3 separate regions of the Homo sapiens genome follow, and all the other regions are linked to region 1. The links are contacts of gene promoters, found by promoter capture Hi-C in blood cells and fetal thymus (Javierre and others, 2016). All regions are on one chromosome and are shown on one strand. The core of a region is centred on a gene start or on the middle of the fragment in contact, and the rest is flanking DNA. Distances in the headings are between cores, read along the strand shown.

Region 1 (2,834 bases), core at 126-2,625:
AGGGGTTGAAACTTGGACATGTATTTTTTAGGGGGACACAATTCAACTCACTGCACACATTTACATAAATAACACATCTTTTAATAAAAATATTTTCGAAATAAAAATTTAGCAAGAAGAGTGACCTTATTTTTGTAAATCTTTCATATCTAGATTTAAGGAAGAAGCTGGGTGCTCATTTCCTTTGATATTCAATCTGTTATGCTGTTTTGGTTGAAATATATAATGAAAATCCAGCTTCATACAGATCATTACATACCCTCTGAAAGGGTTTCAGGAGGCTTCTGGGGACTTCAGAGCAACACTTGAGAACCACTGCTCTAAAGCATATACTCCATAAATATATGTAAAATGGAATTTCCAGGCTGTGGCTACATATTCCAGGCTATATATATATATATATATATACATATATACACACACACACACACACACTGTATATAGGTGTGTGTGTTCTGTGTGTGTATACATATATTCTACTTTATTAGATAATGGCACATTGTTTTCCAACTTGATTAACCAATTTACTTTTTCACTAGCAGTGTATAAGAGGTTTTGTGGCTCTATAAGTCGACCAATATCTGTTATTGTTACACTTAAAATTTTTGCCTATCTTGTGGTATGTAATGTATTGATTGCACTGTGACGTTTAATTTAACAAAAGTTCATCTAGTGCTTGCTATGTACCAACCACTTCTAGGTACTTTTTCCAAATATTGGTACTTTGTAATAATTCTCTATGGTAGGTGCTATTATCTCCATTCTACAGATACACACTGAGGCAGAGAATTTAAGCAAGTGGCCGGACGTCACACAGCCAGTACGTGGCAAAGCAGGGATTAAGCACTCCTGCAGTCTGCTCTTAGAATTCGCGCTCCTTGCCCAGCTGCTTCCCCCAAATATTTATTATTACTTATGAGAAAACTCCGCAAATTGCAAAGCGCTCTACCACCAACGATTAGCACCCTAGGGCAAAATGAGCCCTTTACCACTCCCTAGATGCTCCCCAGCGCTAAGTTCCCAGCGGAGGTTGCAGTGAGCGCAGATCGCGCCACTGCACTCCAGCCTGGGTGACAGGGCGAGACTCTTGTCTCAAAAAAAAAAAAAAAAAAACAACAAAAAAAGCCAGTGATTGGAGCGTAATTACCCTCGCCAACCGCCTGTAACCACGGCGGCCGCCACGCCCCGTTTCCTGGTCTCGCCCCTCTCCGCCCACGACTCTGGCCCCGCCCCTCGTCCCAGGCTGCAACGGAGGCAGAGCCAACGCCTCGCGGGCTTCCACGTACGCACTCCAACGCGTGTTCCCGGAGAAGAACGCATCCGGGTCACGGGAGCCGGTGTCTCAGGCTCCGCCCCTTCACCCCCCGAAAGGCTAATCCCCACTTCCGACCCTCTCAGGCCTTTTCCGCTTCTCTTTTACCTCCCCAGGTCCGCCCGTCTGCGCCCCTCACAGGAAGCCGGAGGGTCGCTCTGATCCCGAATCTCCCACAGGCGTGAACCTGCTCTGCTGTGTATCTTTGCGGGGTGGCCTGCGCTGAGGCCTGCCGCGCGCGGTGAGTCCGCGCAGACCTGACCCTGCGTCTCGCAGCTCGGTTGAGGCCGCCGCCGCCTTCTCGGGATGCCGCGGCCGGGGTCCGCGCAGCGCTGGGCGGCCGTCGCGGGCCGTTGGGGGTGCAGGCTGCTCGCACTGCTGCTACTGGTGCCTGGACCCGGCGGCGCCTCTGAGATCACCTTCGAGCTTCCTGACAACGCCAAGCAGTGCTTCTACGAGGACATCGCTCAGGGCACCAAGTGCACCCTGGAGTTCCAGGTATCAGGGGCCTAGCAGTCCCTGGGCCCCAACTCGCGGCTCCAGGATTGGGGGTGTAACTTGAGGGATGGCACTTTCCTGTCCGTGTTTCCCCGTTCTTAGGCTAATTCAAAAATCGCTTCTAGGTAGCTGATGCCCAGCATTTGACTTTCCTCTAATAAACCTTGGGTGAGAGATGTTAAGACCGGGTGTTAAAATATATGAATTCCAGAAATGCTCCCTTTAGCATTTCTTTCCATCTCATTTTTAAGGCCTATTGAACTTTCTTCCTTAAAAGATTCCCTTAAAGAAAATCATTTATACTCTGTAGTACCCAGTGTCAACCCTCTACTCTCTAATCCACACCTCCAATTTAATTGGATTTGGAGTGCTGCCAATGTCTAACTTCATTGCTTTTCAGTTTTACCAATATTAGGACTGTTGGTTAATACGGTCCTTGTCATTGGAAGAGCTCCATTACAGGTTGAACGGCCATTTGCCAAGGGAGTTGTAGAAAGAATTGCTGTGATAAATGAGAGGCCCCTTCTGATATTTGGGATTATATAAAAAAGAAACTTTAACAGAATGTGGTTTATTCGGTTGGTTAGAACAGTCTTTACTGAGCTTCAATTTTGGTTGGTAGGCGCATTTAACATTTGAGTAGCTATTGAATACTAGGTGCCAGTGGTACAGAAGTGGTCGAAACAGATAGGGTCACTGCCATCATTCATGATTCCCCTCTCACCCTGCTTTTCTTAACTGGTATCTGCTCATTCATCAGAACTGTGCCTTAAGAGCAGTAAGTAGGATCCATGAAGGAAGACTTCCTTTGGAAAATTATTTTAAGCTGAACTTTAAAGGATGAGCTATAAACACCTTGGTAAGGGAGGAGGGGGAATAGCCTGTGGTAGTAGTGAACACTGAGAATTTCAGGGCCATAGAGAGAGGTCCAATATGGTTGGGAATAAGGAGCCAGAGCAAGGGGGTCAGCAGGGGCAGGCCAGATAGTGTCTTGCTGACCATGTTAAGGATTTGTTTTTCCTGA
Region 2 (2,931 bases), core at 115-2,614, 2.6 Mb after region 1:
AGTCTAGCAAGCAGCTAAATCATGTTGCATTCAGGCAAGGTTAGGCAGAGCTTTTAAGGGCTACTGTAAATTTACGTATCTGGAAGGTTTTAGCACAGTCCATGATAAATGATGGCTGGTTGTCAGCTCAGGATGTCTCTAGTCAATGATCAATATAGTTGGGTATGGTTATCTCTCCAGGCGGTTGATCAGGCCCAGTATATACAACTCAAGTCAAATGCAGCTAGTTTTACACTTTGGCCCAGTTCAGCAGGTGAAACTCCATCTAGATGTGTATGTGACCAGGATCCAACTCCTTATGCCCTCCTGGCTCCTTTTTGGATATTCTGACATAATCATCTCCATTGTGAATTTTCTTTTCAGATCCATCAGTTTCATTTTGGATTTTTTTTCCCCACAATTCAGATTCATCAGTTTCATCTTTAAGACTTCTAGTCTTCTGATCTGTTCTAGTCTGGATCAGCTGTCCTCTACACCTGGTACACATCTGTCAACTCTACACTGCCCTTTCACAAGCATCCTATAGTTCCCTGTGCCTTTATCCCACAGAGGTCATGTGTCTTGTCTTTTTGTTTTCATCCTCCTTAATTCACTTCCTTGTTTTCATGAAGTAATCCTCACATATCCTGTGAAGGAAGGATGCAAAGGGGAGGTAAATACTATATTTTAAGATACTACACATCTAAAATGTCTTTATCCTCATACTTGATAATTTGGGTAAAGAATTCTAAGTTGGAAATGATTTTCTTTCAGAATCTTCAAAAGTGTTCTTAATTCCAACTTGCAATTTTGATATTGAGAAGATCGAAGCCATTCAGATTTTTTTTCTTTTTACTTCTAATTTGTGCCAAGGACAAAAGCCATTCAGATTCTTAATGTTTTGTATATGACCTTTTTTTTTCCCCAGTCTGGATGCTTCTAATATCTTCCTTCCATCCCCAGTGTTGTGAAATTTTGCAGTGTCTATTTTTGATCCACTACACTGTCATTCCATAGACTATACATACTTGGAAACTCATATCCTTCAGTGCTGAAAGGTCTCGTAAGTCAATCCTACTGTGAGTCTTTATGTTTCTATACTGCCTTGCCAGGCATGGTAGTACATGCCTGAAATTCCAGCTACTAAAGCCAAGGAGTTCAAATTCAGCCTGGTCAACAATGTGAGACCCCGTCTCTATTTTTTTAAAAAAATACCCCCCATATCAATTACATTAATTTTGCTTTTCATTTTTCCCAGTTCTCCTCAGCCCGCTCTGTTGAAATGCTGAAATTTTAACTGTCAGAGGCAACCGTAATATTGCCTTAGGGACTTGTGGGGAAGGGGAGGGGAATTATTCAGCGTAGTGTTTTAACTTTCAGAACCAAGTAGTCTATTTTCTCTATGTAAGAAATGTGTTTGTCTTACTTGAAGAGAAACCCAGACTTCATCAGTTTTTGATAACATCTTGGTTTCTGAAGGAACTTCAATCTGTAATTGGCATTCAGAATGCCCTTGGCATGGCAGTCTGTGTGATGGCATTTAAGACCTGTGAAATCCTTGAGCCCAACTTGATTAATCAACACTGATAACCACCACCTTTATCCTTTAAAGTCTGCTTTATCTGTATTTTAAAAAATGAAAAACCCTCAAGTGTAAGAGCCAGCTCCCTATCTACTCACATAAAGGAGAAGCGTATTAATGAATAAACCTCCCAAATGTCTCATCATTAATATAAAAAGGCATCCAAAAATCACCTACCATCTAAGGAAAATGTGAAGCATGACAAGAAAGTTTTTTAACTGACGCTGAAGAAAACATAATTGAGGAACCAGAAGAAAACAGGAGTGAGGGTTGAAAGATGGAATTATTATCCTAAAAGAAATTTAAAAGAGTATTCCTTTTTCAGAGCAACTGTATTTTTCTTTAAATGTACAGTAACTAAGTAAGAGCCCTCGGGGGGAAAAAAAACTATTATTACTATAACCAACGGAAGCAGTGGAAGGTAGTATTAAGGATATCACCTAGACACTGGTACTCAAAATGTGGACGCTAGACCATGTGGGAACTAAGTGTGAAAACAGAAACAGGTATTTTACACATTAAAGGACTCAGTTTACTTCCTAATGAACCCCCTCAAAGAAATTAACTTAAAATGCGCACAAGCAAAACAAGAATGAAAACCAAGAAAGGATGAAACATGATATTCAAGAAAGAGTAAGTACCATCTCAGAGAGTTGTGAAAGTGAATTCTAGTATTCTAGTTGCTAGGCAAGTCTGAGGAGCAACGAGTCCAGACTGGATTAGGAGGATGGAGGTCCCCAAGAGTGCAGTCTAAAGGGAAAAAAGGATTCTGTCGAAAGTATGATTGAGGATAAGATAAGGAAGCGGATGAGAAGGGTTGAAAAAAGCAGCTAGAAACTTTGGACATATTAGAGAGGAGTACATGTACAACAGAATCATAGTCCAAATGTGAAGCAAAAACACCAAAGTTAGAACAGAAAGCCAACTGTCCCCTCCCCTCAAAAAAATGGATTTCAAGAATAGCCAGAAGGGGCCTGGCATGGTGGCTCCCGCCTGTAATCCCAGCACTTTGGGAGGCCATGGCAGGCGGATCACCTGAGGTCAGGAGTTCAAGACCAGCCTGGCTAACACATGGTGAAACCCCGTCTCCACTAAAAATATAAAAAATGGTGTGGTGGAGGGTGCCTGTAATCCCAGCTACTCGGGAGGATGAGGCAGGAGAATCGCTTGAACCCAGGAGACACGGGTTGCAGTGAGCTGAGACCACATCATTGCCTCCAGCCTGGGCAAACGAGCAAGACTCCGTCTCAAAAACAAACAAACAAAAAGGCTAGAAGGAATCAAGCAATAGTAACAAAAGCATATATTTCTTTCCCCAAAGAAAAAACTAAATGGTACCATCATTTTGACCAATTTGTAGGATATAAGAA
Region 3 (2,708 bases), core at 141-2,640, 2.9 Mb after region 1:
TTGCCTAGGCTGGTCTCGAACTCCTGGACTCATGCGATCCATGCGCTTTGGCCTCTCCCAAAGTGCTGGAATTACAGGCATGAGCCACCACACCCTGCCAAAGTGAGAGGTTTTAAAGAGTTTGTGGTCAGATGTTTTTTGATACAGAGCTACAAATCATTTTGCCAGAAGCAGTGAGCCACTGATTGGGGCTCAGCAACCCCTGCTTTGCTACTGCCCCTTCAAACTGTATGCAGAGAATTCAGAGACAACCAGCTCTAAAAACACACAGGCTCTGGTTCCAGAAAAGTGAAGGCTAGCAACGAATGAACTAGCCCATACAAGAAGCAAACATAAAAATATTCCTCCTTCTTTTAAGCTGAACAATTCTATCTCTAAATTTTAAAAATGCATTAAAAGGTCAAAAGTCCACAGTAAAGGGAAAAATAGATTATGTGTTATGAGACAGAATGAAAAGTAAACAAATCTGCCAGGCTATTTATAACCCACACGTTAAAAATTTTTAACATACAATTCTAATACAGCAGGCATAGTTTGTGCTTAACAACTTTGGAGAACATCTAGCATAACTTCAAGAAAACGATATTGCTCAATTTAATGTTAATAAAAAAGGTCCACCCATTTGCAATTTCAAAGGGCAAGCTATCATTTATATTTTTAATCTCACTTCTACAATTTTGGGGCTCTTGACACGTTATCCAACCCTTCCATCCAGGGAAAGATGGAAAAATTAGCCATGGCAACTTCCTCCACTACCGCTTTGATCCCACATTTTGCACTTAGACTCTGGCAAGGTACTACGTTATTTAGGACAGTTTTTTACACCAGTAATTCTGACTACCCTTGCTCCACTAATAAAGGAGGGAGTACTGAGACTGGCACAAGACTAAATCATATAGAAAATATCAAGTACTCCTAAGGAGGGTTGAACAGTAACAACAATCGAGAATACAAGCAATTTAAGAAGTTTTGAACTTAAAAAGCTTTTCTCCATTTTAGTCCTTTCTAAATAGAAACAAAGGGCTTGTACAACATGGAATTCTAAGACGTCAGTAGGCAATTTAAGCTAACACTGAATAAAAGAATAAATCACTTATCCTTGCTTGTACCATTAAGTGATGTCTTACATGTACTGCATAAGGTCTTCTTTTTTAAAACGAATATAACAGTTTCCAATTCTTTCACTAGATCTAGAAAGCTCACGCCCCCACCTCAACAGTTCAGAGACCAAAGATTTCCTACAGCCGAAAAAAATGAATGATTTAGATGAACAATCATTTGCCAACAGAGGCACCATTCCTCTACTTGGTGGGTCAAGGAGTCAGACTCTGACCTAACCATCCAAGGCTCCTGGGGACTTGATTCTCCCATCAAAGTGAACAAAATTCACCGGCCTTTGGATAACAGCCCTTTCTTTGTAACTCCACATGCCGGGCTATCAGGTATTTTCCCAGGCAGAGAGTTTAAAACTTTTAGAGGAAGCAAGAGGGTCCAAACGAGGAAGATGGGGAAGCGACTAAAATGGGAAGGGCGGACGACCCACCCACCTAACGCGAATGGGGCACCACTTGCAGGGGCGAAGCTCCAGCAGCAGCCAGGAAAGGTGGAGGACGGCGGGCGTCGCGACCCCCATCCACTGCGTGAGAATGGAGGACCTGCAAAGCCAGGGGCCAACTGGAGGCCTGAATGGGGAGTGCGGGGAGGGGAGAGGGTGAGACATGGAGAGAAGAGAGCCACAGAGTCGGGCCGAGCACCGTAGGGTCCCGAGCAGCGGCGGGGCAAAGCCGAGGAAGCTTTGCCGGGAGGAGACGTCAATGCCTGCAGCCTCACTCACCTGCCAGACGCTCGCCCAGTGGCCAGAAGTACGAGCGCCGCCCGGGCTCTTCGTCTCCTGCCGGACGCAGCTCCTGCTGCCGCCGGTGCTCCAGGACCCGAGAACTGAGGGTGGTACAGAAGCGGGCAAAGGGGCGACCGGACCCGAGCCCAGGGAGGCGTACATAGGGGGCGCCGAGGCCCGAGAAGGCAACTGAGTGCTTCACCTTCCTCACCAACAGCCAACAACAGTACCTGGGAACAGCATCGAGCCAACCTCGGTCCGCAGCTCCCGGGCCTGAGCCCGCAGGTCCCCCCCGAGCAGCGGCTAGGCTTCCGGCGGCCACACCCCGCCCCCTTGCTACTTGCCCTCCGCCATCTTGTGGGAGGTGGGAAGACTACAATGCGCATGCGTGAGAGGTGTTGCTGGCTTCCCACAGCCCGGAGACTAGAGCCTGTTATGCGCAGGCGCAATGGGTGCTGCGCTCCGCTTGCCGGGCACTGCTTCGCTGTTCTGTCCCGTGAGCCATTGCTGCCTAGGCAGCCGAGTCTCAGTTGCAGCACTTACTGGCCTTCTCTGAATTGTGCTGCAGCCCAGTTAATAGATCCTTCTGCACACACTAGTCCATTATTCCGCAAACATCTATCGAGTGCTCACTATTTGCTACTCCCCGTACTAGACGCTGATGATAGAAAGATGAATAAAATTCTGTCCCAGCCCCACAAGGGCTCATAAGATAGCGGAGAAACGGAGATGAGCAAGTTATTATTTTGTAGCTGCGACCTCTGCTTCCCTACCACCTCTCACTACCACCCTGTAGTTTTAATTTAAAAACACCTCTTCCGGGAAATCCTTGTTTGTCTCACACAGTTTGATAAGTTCTTTACCTTGGATT

Evidence for each region. Contacts are between HindIII fragments. The CHiCAGO score rates a contact against its expected background, and 5 or more counts as called.
Region 2: a fragment that was not itself captured here is called in contact with the fragment with the promoter of TMED7 in region 1 in 2 of 17 cell types (naive CD4 T cells and total CD4 T cells); the score reaches 8.0 in naive CD4 T cells.
Region 3: a fragment that was not itself captured here is called in contact with the fragment with the promoter of TMED7 in region 1 in 3 of 17 cell types (non-activated CD4 T cells, naive CD4 T cells and total CD4 T cells); the score reaches 6.3 in non-activated CD4 T cells.

The regions. Positions count from the first base shown.
Region 1 is chr5:115,624,577-115,627,410 of GRCh38, reverse strand. It overlaps TMED7 (transmembrane p24 trafficking protein 7), which reads left to right and starts at 1,375. Exons shown (of 3, transcript NM_181836.6): 1 at 1,375-1,810. The coding sequence starts at 1,619. It overlaps TMED7-TICAM2 (TMED7-TICAM2 readthrough), which reads left to right and starts at 1,375. Exons shown (of 4, transcript NM_001164469.4): 1 at 1,375-1,810. The coding sequence starts at 1,619. RefSeq lists an enhancer at 1,310-1,479 and a silencer at 1,650-1,719. The HindIII fragment of the contact is 9,571 bases long and covers 1-2,834 here.
Region 2 is chr5:112,981,669-112,984,599 of GRCh38, reverse strand. The region is part of intron 1 of DCP2 (decapping mRNA 2); the gene reads right to left. Among named protein-coding and RNA genes, the nearest start is that of DCP2, 6.3 kb to the right of the region's middle. RefSeq lists an enhancer at 2,623-2,931. The HindIII fragment of the contact is 7,597 bases long and covers 1-2,931 here.
Region 3 is chr5:112,707,009-112,709,716 of GRCh38, reverse strand. It overlaps a transcript of APC not described here. Among named protein-coding and RNA genes, the nearest start is that of APC, 30 kb to the left of the region's middle. RefSeq lists an enhancer at 2,180-2,239. The HindIII fragment of the contact is 810 bases long and covers 986-1,795 here.